Linked DNA regions of Homo sapiens: region 1 is linked to region 2. Evidence: promoter capture Hi-C in 16 types of primary human blood cells and fetal thymus (Javierre and others, 2016). All regions are on one chromosome and are shown on one strand. The core of a region is centred on a gene start or on the middle of the fragment in contact, and the rest is flanking DNA. Distances in the headings are between cores, read along the strand shown.

What was found. The method cuts DNA at HindIII sites, captures the fragments that hold promoters and counts their contacts. A CHiCAGO score of 5 or more calls a contact.
Region 1: a fragment that was not itself captured here is called in contact with the fragment with the promoter of CD1E in region 2 in 1 of 17 cell types (fetal thymus); the score reaches 6.8 in fetal thymus.

What each region holds. Positions count from the first base shown.
Region 1 is chr1:158,397,154-158,403,702 of GRCh38, reverse strand. It overlaps OR10T2 (olfactory receptor family 10 subfamily T member 2), which reads left to right and starts at 4,237. Exons shown (of 1, transcript NM_001004475.1): 1 at 4,237-5,181. The coding sequence starts at 4,237. The coding sequence ends at 5,181. The HindIII fragment of the contact is 1,286 bases long and covers 1,174-2,459 here.
Region 2 is chr1:158,351,145-158,356,885 of GRCh38, reverse strand. It overlaps CD1E (CD1e molecule), which reads right to left and starts at 2,992. Exons shown (of 6, transcript NM_030893.4): 1 at 2,840-2,992; 2 at 2,213-2,509; 3 at 1,317-1,586; 4 at 781-1,059; 5 at 295-388; 6 at 1-158. The coding sequence starts at 2,897. The HindIII fragment of the contact is 6,143 bases long and covers 2,242-5,741 here.

The sequences.
Region 1 (6,549 bases), core at 567-3,066, 48 kb before region 2:
TTCTTATATTTCTACTTGGCTTATTATTCCAGAATGTTTTTATTCATGAAGTCATTTGCTGAATCTCGGCCCTGGCTGTGGTCAAGGCAATCCCTGCTGGGGGTGCTCATCCTTGTAGCTGCCCTGTTGTTAATGTCACAATAACACTGAACATCATTTTACCTCTTATTACACATAGCTCTGCTTACATCTGTCTTCTCTACTAGAGCAGATCAATTCATACATTTTATCTTTGTATCACTATAATGTCTCATATCCTGCTCTCTAAATCATGGTACTCAATGAATGGTTCCTCGATGAAAGTCATTTCCTTACAATAATTCCTAGGACAGAATTAAGAAATCCAGTTATTTGAATTTTTTCCAGGTTTTGATTTAGGAGAACAGAGACTACTTAGGTAATTCCCAAAAGTGCCAAGCAACCAGCACTCACCAACCCCTGCCTTCATCTCTTAGGCCTTATCAAGGCAGTTTTATTGTATATCTCCTGGTTGGAGAATTTGGCTTCTCCTGGCATTTCAACATTTTGTAGTCTTGATGTCAGAAAATCACTAGAATACTTATCTACACTTGTAGTTCTTTGCAGAGATGGAATGTTTTATTGCCATTTGAATTTTTTTCTTCTGGTATTAAATAATATGTCCTTGTTCAAGGTTAGTCATTTATTTCCTCTCTTGTTTTAGCTCTTACTAAGTCTCAGAAGGCCTTACTCCTTAGAATCCCAGAAGGCTATAAATACTCTCAAATACAATTATATAGAATCTGAATTGACATATTAATATAAACCAGACTATTTTCAGCTCTTATTTAAGACTTAAAAAGGTTTGGACAACTAAGTCTCCATATAAGCCCTTTATGAAATGCTTCAGTGCATTTTCTTCCAATTATTTAATCTTCTGGGACAGATGTCATTGATTTTACAACTGACTTTCTGCTGCCTCTTTCAATATTTAAAAGACCTACCAGAGTATAAGTCAACAAAGTCATATGGCAGCTTCCTTGATCTTTTGAACATAAGTAGGTAAGTCTATTTTCTTTGTCAGTTACTATCTAAAGAAAGAAATATTTTCTACCAAAAATTCAGGTGTGAATTCATTAGCAGTTTTTATTGTTATAAAAAGGATTCTGAGCCAAAGTAAAACTTTATTTGCTCTTTTCTTGAAATGAAAAAGCTTCCACTCTGCTAGAGTGCACACACACAGATACAGACACATATACACACACACACATATACACCCACCCCATCTTAATATATCAAATTTAAATGCTGAGATGTCAAGCAACAGAAGTAACTAGAAAGGCAGGAAAACTCAGCAGTGTAGATTTCTCCTTTTAAAGTAAAAGATGATTTTGAAAAAAAATAAAAATTTAAAAATAATACGGATTATAGTAGAACAAAGAATATATTCCAGAAAAAAATAGCAGATGAGAAAACTCATAAACAAAAGAAGAATGAAATAAACCATGCCATAATTTATTAAGTATTTAATTAGTGTCTGTTGTGTGCCCAGTATTGTTTGCAGCTGCTGCGGATTGTTTAGAATACGTTGCTATGCCCCCTGCCTCAAAGAAAGAATGTAAGTAAGGTTATGAGGCATCCACATAGGCAAATTGGTTATAAAGTAATACAAGATATTACCTAACCTGTTCCCATACATGCATGATTTTAAAGTCCCTAAGGGCTATGAAGAGAATGAGCATCTGTATGGACTCTAGTAGGCAGGGAAGGTTTATTGGAGAACATGGGACATGACAGGGATTTGAATATGAAAAACAATGGGCAAAACAAGTATATGAAGCAACCTGAAAAAAGATATAGAAGCAGTACTAGTGTTGAGGACAAGATTAGAGGATATTTTTTATTTAACAAAATTCTCATGAAAGTCACAGAAAAAGAAGCTAATGATTTAGGGAGACATTGCAATTTGTTTGGTTCATAAAACTGTGATTGAAATTAAGCAACATCCTCTTGACCTTCCTTGCCTTTGAGTGTTTTCATCAATCATATCGTTGATTTGCCTACTTTCCTACCCCTTTTTCCTTTTTTTCTTATCTCCCTAATATTAAGATTAAAGAGAATAAAGCTCATATTGTAAAATTTGATAATTCAAAAACTTGGATAATTAAAATTGGATTATTCCAGAAAAGTCAGAAATGTTCAAATAAGTTTTACTTGAACAAGCAGTGTGGAACTATGCTTTCATCCCTTGGAAAAAGTATATGAGCAGATCATCTTCTCACAAGGTAAAGAATGGGTGCCATAAAATTTGGTAAGTAGAAAGTGGATTTGAAGTTAGAAGACTTGAATTCTGATACTGGATCTACCACTTGAGCATATTATTTAATTTTTGACATTCTAATCAAGTCAAAATATTTGAGCACATGATAAATCACAAACTATGCTATATTCTAGGGACTCATTTTTTAATTAAAAAAAGTTATTCCTGCATGTGAGAAGCTTATAATCTATAAAGAGTGCCAAATATATAAAGAGGTATGTTCAATGCAACATGTTAAATGCAAGGATGAGGATGTTCATGGGTTACTCTGCCCAGGAGAGGGCACTTAGTACACTTGCCTTACCCGTGAGATAGCGACAGACACTTTTGCTATCTACCAGGATGTTAGAGTCAAAATGAAGTAGCTTACATGAAAGCATCTTATTTTCCGCAAGGTCTGAAACAAAGGAAAAAGCTGTTGTAGCAGGTGTGTGGAACTACCTAAGCAAATAAACCACAACAGAGATGATGAACAATGAACAAACTCAAGTGTGTCATGTCAAACAACTCCTAACATCTTATAGCCATTAAAGTAGCCAACAAGTTGGGAGATGTTGAGTTGTGCAAATATTACATCTGGTTTCTCCTGAATCTCTGAAGCTGATTCTGAAAGTAAAAATGATTAGGGCTCTGGGAGGAGGAATAACCTAGACTATAAAATAATGGGAAGTTCCTGAGATAGGCTCTTCTCTTTCCATTTAGCACTTTCTGGCTATTTTATTTGCAAGAGATTCAAGGTGTGTTCACGTTATTTCCTCTCCTTTCTTCAATAGAGAGAAGACTTAACCTAAGTCTTCCTGCTCCACCCCTATCCCTAGTGATCATCAATCTATTTTGTTTCATAGACAGATACATCATAACCTTGTGACCCAGGTTTTACACTTGGGTCCCTTCACAGTTCCAGAAACATACAGAACAAATGTCATAGAATCATGAAAGAGAATTCAAAGGCTATAGACTCCTTAGATAAAAAAGGGCAGATTTATTAAAGAACCCTGATTTAATCATCCCACAATGTATACATGTATCCAAACATCACATAATACCCCATAAATAGGTATAATTATTAGTTGCTAATAAAAAATAAATTAAAAAGAAAATAATTTTTAATGTAAAAGTAACAGTTCTTTCTTTAACTGTGCATATTTAAATTTTTGCTCAATTTTAAAAAAAGAATCTCAAGGATAAGAACACTTGAGTCAAATGCAGGGAAACTCTGTCCTGATTTAAGGATCCAGGCTCTTCTAGTGTTCAAATATCAAACCAGGATATTTGCCTCTCAACTCCTTAACTGCATAAGCAGCTGACACATAGATTGGAGTTACTATGTGTTAAGTGCTGTTTCAAGTACTTTACTGATACCATCTAAGTTCTTACAACAATCCTATATAATATGTTCTATTATTATTTATGTCTTACAAATGACAAAAATTGTCACACTGAAGTTCATAGCTCTAAGTGGCAAAGGCAAGTTTCAAACTCTAGCATTCTTGTTCCTGAGTTCATGCTCTGAGGCACAGTGTTTTAATGCCTTTACAATAATGCTAATTAAATGGATTGTGATATTAGGAAAAGAAACCAAATTACTAGGATAGAATATACATCCAAGGACCAAATACATACAGTACAAGAAAAATAATTTAAATTTTCTATTCCATATTAAAGGTAATGTTCTTCTTAAACTGAGAGAATTTTTTCACTTTGTCAAATAGTTGGATCCTTTTAACTTTGGGGTATTTATATACTGTAGATAATCATTTCTCTGTTACTTCAGATTAATAATTTTTTGGAAAAATCATTAAAGAGGCATCTATATCTAGATAGACTAAGAGAAAGAGATGTTAACATTATGAATCTGACAATATACTTAAAGTGAAGGCGTTGGGAAAATGTTCGTATTACAAAGATAGTTATCATTTTGTCTCTTTCAAACACATTCACAGAAAGAAGTTCTTCAGATGCGAGGTTTCAACAAAACCACTGTGGTTACACAGTTCATCCTGGTGGGTTTCTCCAGCCTGGGGGAGCTCCAGCTGCTGCTTTTTGTCATCTTTCTTCTCCTATACTTGACAATCCTGGTGGCCAATGTGACCATCATGGCCGTTATTCGCTTCAGCTGGACTCTCCACACTCCCATGTATGGCTTTCTATTCATCCTTTCATTTTCTGAGTCCTGCTACACTTTTGTCATCATCCCTCAGCTGCTGGTCCACCTGCTCTCAGACACCAAGACCATCTCCTTCATGGCCTGTGCCACCCAGCTGTTCTTTTTCCTTGGCTTTGCTTGCACCAACTGCCTCCTCATTGCTGTGATGGGATATGATCGCTATGTAGCAATTTGTCACCCTCTGAGGTACACACTCATCATAAACAAAAGGCTGGGGTTGGAGTTGATTTCTCTCTCAGGAGCCACAGGTTTCTTTATTGCTTTGGTGGCCACCAACCTCATTTGTGACATGCGTTTTTGTGGCCCCAACAGGGTTAACCACTATTTCTGTGACATGGCACCTGTTATCAAGTTAGCCTGCACTGACACCCATGTGAAAGAGCTGGCTTTATTTAGCCTCAGCATCCTGGTAATTATGGTGCCTTTTCTGTTAATTCTCATATCCTATGGCTTCATAGTTAACACCATCCTGAAGATCCCCTCAGCTGAGGGCAAGAAGGCCTTTGTCACCTGTGCCTCACATCTCACTGTGGTCTTTGTCCACTATGGCTGTGCCTCTATCATCTATCTGCGGCCCAAGTCCAAGTCTGCCTCAGACAAGGATCAGTTGGTGGCAGTGACCTACACAGTGGTTACTCCCTTACTTAATCCTCTTGTCTACAGTCTGAGGAACAAAGAGGTAAAAACTGCATTGAAAAGAGTTCTTGGAATGCCTGTGGCAACCAAGATGAGCTAACAAAAAATAATAATAAAATTAACTAGGATAGTCACAGAAGAAATCAAAGGCATAAAATTTTCTGACCTTTAATGCATGTCTCAGACAGTGTTTCCAAGGATTAAGACTACTCTTGCCTTTTTATTTTCTCCTATTCCAAAAAGAAAAAAAATGCAAGTCAATCTACACTCTATATTGTCCGATGTCTAGTTAAAAAAAAAGAATTCACACTTGGCAAAAAGAGAAAAGCATGAGAGTTTTTCAAGGAAAGACACAACCAAAACAAATATAAGGACAAGAATTGCTTTTCCAGTTGGAGAGACAGAACAGAGTCTGAAGTGGCTGGAAGCATTTTTATCCGGGACACAGGCATTCATCTAGTAATACATTCATCTGTGTACCAAGTCCCATTCAAAGAGGAAAAATTAAAATGAACAAATGTATAGTTTATGGTGGTTGGGACTGGTTAGGTGAAAAGATGAACACTGAAAAAAATATGATAATGCAAGATAATCAGATCAGTTAAAAGAATATAAATAAAAGTTATGAGAATCAAAGGAATGAGTATTTATTCCATCTGAAAGAGAAAAAGATTTAGAATAAGTGGGATGAAAAGAAGGGAGAGAAAATTTAAACTGGGCCTTAAATGGAGAACAAGATATTAATACTAAGAAACTGGGTTTTACAGTGACAAAAATGTTAGTCGATATTATCAGAATTGTTGATAATTCTAGATTTTTATTATGTTAATCATAAGTTAAACATTATTTTTATTTATAGTTCTTGTTTTGTTTTCACTTAGCTATATGTTTAAGTCTTTCAGATCATGTAATTTTATTTAATAATAGACTAAAAATAAACAATAATGACATCCTCATGCTTGATGATCAAATAGAACACAGTGCTCTGAAGAGGCAAAAATGGCCATAATCTCTATGATGATCATAGTGTAATATTTATAAGAACCTAACATTTTATTGATTACAATAATATAATTTGAATTATAAACACTGATCAGGATTGATTTTAAATCTAAACTATCATTTTCAAGCTACATAGTTTAAGAAATGTTATTTAAAATATTAAAACCGATAAGCCTTGAATTTTTTCATCTGGACAACTAAGATTTCTTTTTGAGTAAATATGTGAACTATCTCATTCTCACAGTGCTTGGATTCTAGTTGAGGAAGTCAATTACTGTTAATGAGATCCTTGTTCTGCCCAGAGACTAATCCATACTAGAATTAAAATGTGCTGATTTGTTAAAATTATGTTACATCTCACAAATGAAAAGCTGAAATATCATTATTTGTATGACTGTAAAAATTACATGTAAATTTCTTTTGAGACAGGGTTTCACTCCCGTCACCCAGGCTGGAGTGCAGTGGC
Region 2 (5,741 bases), core at 1,743-4,242:
GGTTTAGGCGTGTCTTCCACTTCTTCAATACTCTGTTTTTGATCCACGATACTTGTGCCAAGCAGAACTGATGTCTTGAATTCTTGGTGTCCTGAGTGTTGGCTCCCATGAGAAAGACAGGGCTGGGTGTGTGGGGAGAAAGAATGTTCTTATTTGAACTGTGGGAAAAGAGGAGGATATTAATCTCAAAGAAAGGAAATAAAGGGGAAAGGCAGAGAAAAAAAAAAAGAAGATAGAGGAAAAAGGAATGAATTGATTACAGGCTGAAGAAACAAAGAACAAGAAAAAGCTCACCTCTGTTTTTTTAACCGTGAGTCAACTACAACCAATATGACCAGGGTAACTATCACAGTCAAACAGATCAGGATGAGAAAGATGGAATATCCACCTGGTTGGGGATAGAATAAGAATACCAACCCTAAAATACTCTATTCCACCAAGCTGAGATTTCCCATTTCACAAGGGTGGGACCTTCCTAGAATTTTCATCTGGGTTTTCCAAAGCCCTCATTTCAATTCCTCCTGATCCTTTGTCTGTGATCTCCTCCCAACCCTCTCCCACTAAATCACTAGTTCCTCCTCCTTTTTCTGTTAGTATGTCTAATTCTCTACTTCCATTTTCTTAAAATTTAACTACTGTCATACTCTATCCTTCTTTATTTTGATTGTCCCAGTTTTACCCTTCTTGTACCTAGCATTCCTACCCATTTCCTCAGCCCCACACTCAAAAGCCCCAGGGCTATTTTCATTATTTCCCAGCAGAGCCTCAGCTGTTTCTCACCCCAATGGATGATTAGATCATGGCCCCCTAGACTGCTGTGTTTCACCCGACAGGACAGGCCAGCTGCCTCCCCAGCCGCCACATCCAGGGTTGCTCGGAGATACCATGTCTCGTCAGCATTAGGCAGGACGTCCCCTCGCTGAGTGCCCCGCTGCTCCTGCTCACCCCGCATCCACATCACCCACACGGGCTTTGGGTAGAATCCTGAGACATGGCACACAAGCTGCAGACGGCCAGGGCCAGGACTGGGGCCACAGGACAGCCAGGCCTCTGGCTTCACTAGGAAGAAGAAGATAGAAAAAAAATGGAATTTTGAAGGGCACCCCAGGCCAGAGCTCAGAGACTCAGGTGCCTTTGTAATAATACTAAGAGTGATTTAGTAATCACTTCTTTCTCTTGTCTAAGAAACAGTCCTGAACCCACACATCTCATTCTCTAGTCTCTCACTATGTCTTTCAAAATGATGATGAGAGGCAAATTCAAATATGAGAGTTATAGTACTAGGAACAAGAGGGGAGAGAGAGAGTTGGGCTCACCTTTCCGTTTCAGTTCTGACTCCCCTGCTTCCATGAGCCCCGCTAGAAATCGAGGGCAGGTGTGACCAAGAAGGCTTTGCAGTATTTCCTTAATATCTAGGTAGCGATTGAGCACTTTACAGATGTTCTGGGCCCGGATCCCTGCTCCTGGAGATGGCTCCCAGGAAATTCCTTGGAAACTCAGGAAATCTGACCCTTGATATGCCATATTTAAGAAGATTTGTGGGGCATTCATTCTACAGCCAGCTAATATCTGGATCTCGAAGGGGTCTGAGAGTGGACAGGGAAGAGAGATCATTATGGAAAGAATGACAAGGAAGAAAAACAAACAATTTAGACAGTAAAGAGATTCAAGGGAAGAAAAATTTGCTGGGAAATCATATGGAGACTAGAGTTTACTGGCAAAGGGGAAGAAAATTTGTGGGAAGAAAATTTGAAGATAATAAAGATACTTTGAAATAACTAATGGGAAAGTGGTAGATGGGAAGGCTATCAGGAAGATAGGAGATTGGTCATAAATAATTCACGTGAAAGTGGTTAGGTACAGGCCAGTCCATGTCAACACTCAGGCAAAGGATAAAGAAGGGCAGAAAGAGGGTTGAGAAAGGCTGAGTCTGAGGGCAGGAATGAGGGGCAGAAGATCCAGAGGAGACAATCATTCCAAAGAGCCAGACATGAAGCTATATTCATGTTGAGATATGTACATGCAGGCCCTTTTGTGTATATGGTGGAGTGTGGGTGGTGGTGAAGGGTGAAGCAGAGGAGGGAGTGGGAGTCAGAGAGTGGGGAACAAGGTTAGTAAGGTTAAATGATGGTCAGAGTCTATATACTATCTTCCACTTTGGAAAATAGTTGGTGTTCCCAGGCAAATTATCAGCTTAGAGCAACGAACTTACATTCAAGCTGAAATTGACCAGCAGAAGCTTGCACTATCTGGATAAAACTATGGAAGTATAACTGGAACAGTGACTGTAAGTTTTTCAGCTCCTGCTTGCTGAAGTTTCCATGGGACCAGGGCTTCAGAAAGCGGATGGTGCCCAAGACAGTGTCCCAGCCATGAGTCTGCAGGTCACCCAGCCATCCTGAGCCCTCACTGTGTGCCCAGCTGTGGTTGGCAAAGGAGGAAGTTTGGAGCATGCGGAAGGACAGCTGCTCCTCTGCTGCTAGATGATAGGATTGTAGAGCCTGGGGAGCTGAGAGAGAGGGAAATGACAAGTAGAGAGAATGTAAAGGGATGGGAAAAGTGATGCCAAAGGGAAAAAAGGAACCCAGAGATGAGAGACAGTTAGGTAGCTTGTACATACTCCAATACCCTTTTCCTGTGGGGCCAGCTTCCTTTCTCCAAAATCAGAGACAAAAACTGAGACTGAGAGCAAGAATTCTCTGCCTGGAACTAGCCTGAAAGGCATATTCCAAGGGCATCCTAGAAGAGTACTGCTCCCTTCCCCCAGGACCTCCCCAGAGCTTCCTCTCAGCCCTCTGGTGCCCTACCATAGGTATCTTTCCACCTGCACTCTTCTTACCTGCTGTATTTTCCCCAGGACAGCAGAGACCCTCGAAGAGGAGGAACAGGAGCAGCATTGAAGCTCTGTTAAAGGAGGGATTCCTTGGCAGGACACCTGCCCTAATAATTCAGATATCAGTACCCCTCTCCACACCCTCTTGCACTCTCGTCTGACTTCCCTTGCTGTACAGACAGACAAACCTCTCCCTCTGCTGACTTCCCTGTCAGAGAAGCCACACTGCCTCGCTTTGCTGCAGCCTCCCACGGGGTTTTTCATTTCCCCTCTGCCTCTCTCACTGTCTGGCTCCAGATTTTCTCCCTGCTCTTGTGTACATCCTCCCAACCTCCCTAATTGCACTAACTGCTGGAAAACGAGTCCTGGCTTAAAACAAAGTCTGTGGTCTGGCTAGAAGATGGAGTAGCTTTTGGCCTTGTAGAAATCAAATCCATACTTGGCTTGTCAATAATCTAATCTGTGAGAAGTGATGGTAGTCACTCAGTGGTGCCTAGTGACCTATCCACCAGTCTCCCACTTCTACCTCTCTGTGATCCTCTCCTCCGCCTGTATCTCTTCACTCTGCTCTTGATCATGATCAGAAGACACTCAGCATCCTGGATGTAGCTGCATAATAAGCAGGCAACCCTCCATAATCCAACTCTCTGTGCTGCTGAAAAAGGAGCAGCAATGGCAATGCAGATTATCAGAAAATCTAAAGAAAGCTCCTTTTTTTCAGTTTCCCCAGTCAAGCCAACTGTCACTGTTAAAGTGGTCCATGAGTGGGCTTGACCTGGAAGTGGTGAGCTAGAGGGCAGGTAGATTTCACCCATGTTTTACAGGTGGCTCTGGAGGAAATACATAGGGGACTTGGATCCCCATCTCTACCCAAACGAAGAAAGCATGTCTGGAAGTCTGTGGGCCAGCTTTGCCCTGGGTATGAAGAAAGACTGAGGGCAGGCATGAAGCTCCTCATTAGTTCATGGCCTGAGAGCATTGGAGTCCCCTTGCTTGCGTTCGGTTAGAGAGCAGTTTGGGTGGACACAGGGAAGTACCTTTAGAGGACTGAAGTGTTCACTGGAGAATTAATTGAGTCTTTATTTTTGTTTCTTTTTCATTGATATTTGTTGTGACACTCTGAAGGCAGTTGAAATAACATTCCTTTGTTTGGTTTTTATATATTTGTTCAACTGACATTTATTCAGAGCCCACCTATGACCAAAAACAATTGCCAGGCCCTAAGATATCAGAGATAGACATCTTTGGGAAAAAATAAAACAAAATTCAACCCCAAACCTCTACTTTTCTTATACAGTAAATTTACTGAACGGTGGTCAGAATTATTGAAAAAGGTCCAAACCTAGTTTCATCTTATTATCATTTCTAAATTCTAAGTTAAAAGAAAGATAAAAAGTTTCCTTGTTTCCTGAGTAGAATATCTACATTTATTTTCAATACTCTTTCTGTGCTGGAGAGGTGCTGGAGAGGATGTGGAGAAATAGGAACACTTTTACACTGTTGGTGGGACTGTAAACTAGTTCAACCATTGTGGAAGTCAGGGTGGCGATTCCTCAGGGATCTAGAACTAGAAATACCATTTGACCCAGCCATCCCATTACTGGGTATATACACAAAGGATTATAAATCATGTTGCTATAAAGACACATGCACACGTATGTTTATTGTGGCACTATTCACAATAACAAAGACTTGGAACCAACCCAAATGTCCAACAATGATAGACTGGATTAAGAAAATGTGGCACATATACACCATGAAATACTATGCAGCCATAAAAAATGATGAGTTCATGTCCTTTGTAGGGACATGGATGAAGCTGGAAACCATCATTCTCAGCAAACTATCACAAGGACAAAAAACCAAACACCGCATGTTCTCACTCATAGGTGGGAATTGAACAATGAGAACACATGGACACAGGAAGAGGAACATCACACACCGGGGCCTGTTGTGGGGTGGGGGGAGGGGGGAGGGATAGCATTAAGAGATATACCTAATGTAAATGACGAGTTAATGGGTGCAGCACACCAACACGACACATGTATACATATGTAACAAACCTTCACGTTGTGCACATGTACCCTAGAACTTAAAGTATAATAATAAAAAATAAATAAATAAATAAAAATAATTAAAAAAAGAAAAAAAAACTGCAAACAAAAAAACAAAAGAAAAAGGTCCAAACCTAGTTTCATCTTATTATCATTTCTAAATTCTAAGGTTAAAGAAAGATTAAAAAAAGTTTCCTTGTTTCCTGAGTAGAATGTCTACATTTATTTTCAATACTCTTTCTTTTCTACAAATACATTCAAAGCTATAAGTTGCTATGTAAATCTATCTATAAATCGCTATGTAAATCCAAAATTGGTTTCATAATAAAATTATGAACAGTAAACAAAGATAAATATTCAAGAGAATATATAATAACCTACAAAAACAATAATACATAATAAAAAGATTGGAATGACCTATGCCAAACATCAATACTACAAGTAACTGTATTCCTTAGAATTTTTGTTTTGTTTTGTTTTTTCCTGAGACGGAGTCTTGCTGTCTTGCTCTGTTGCCCAGGCTGCAGTGCAGCCACAGGATCTCGGCTCATTGCAACCCCCGAATCCCTGGTTCAAACGACTCTCCTGCCTCAGCCTCCTGAGCAGCTGGGATTACAGGCAAGAGCCACCATGACCATCTATTTTTTGTATTTTTAGTAGAGACAGGGTTTCTTCATGTTGACCAAGACGGTCTCGATCTCCTGACCTCGTGATCCACCCGCCTCGGCCTCCCAAAGTGCTGAGATTACAGGCGTGAGCAACCGTGCCCCGGCCATTAGAATTTTTGAATCAGGCCAGGCACGGTGGCTCACACCCGTAATCCCAGCACTTTGGGAAGCCAAGGCAGGCGAATT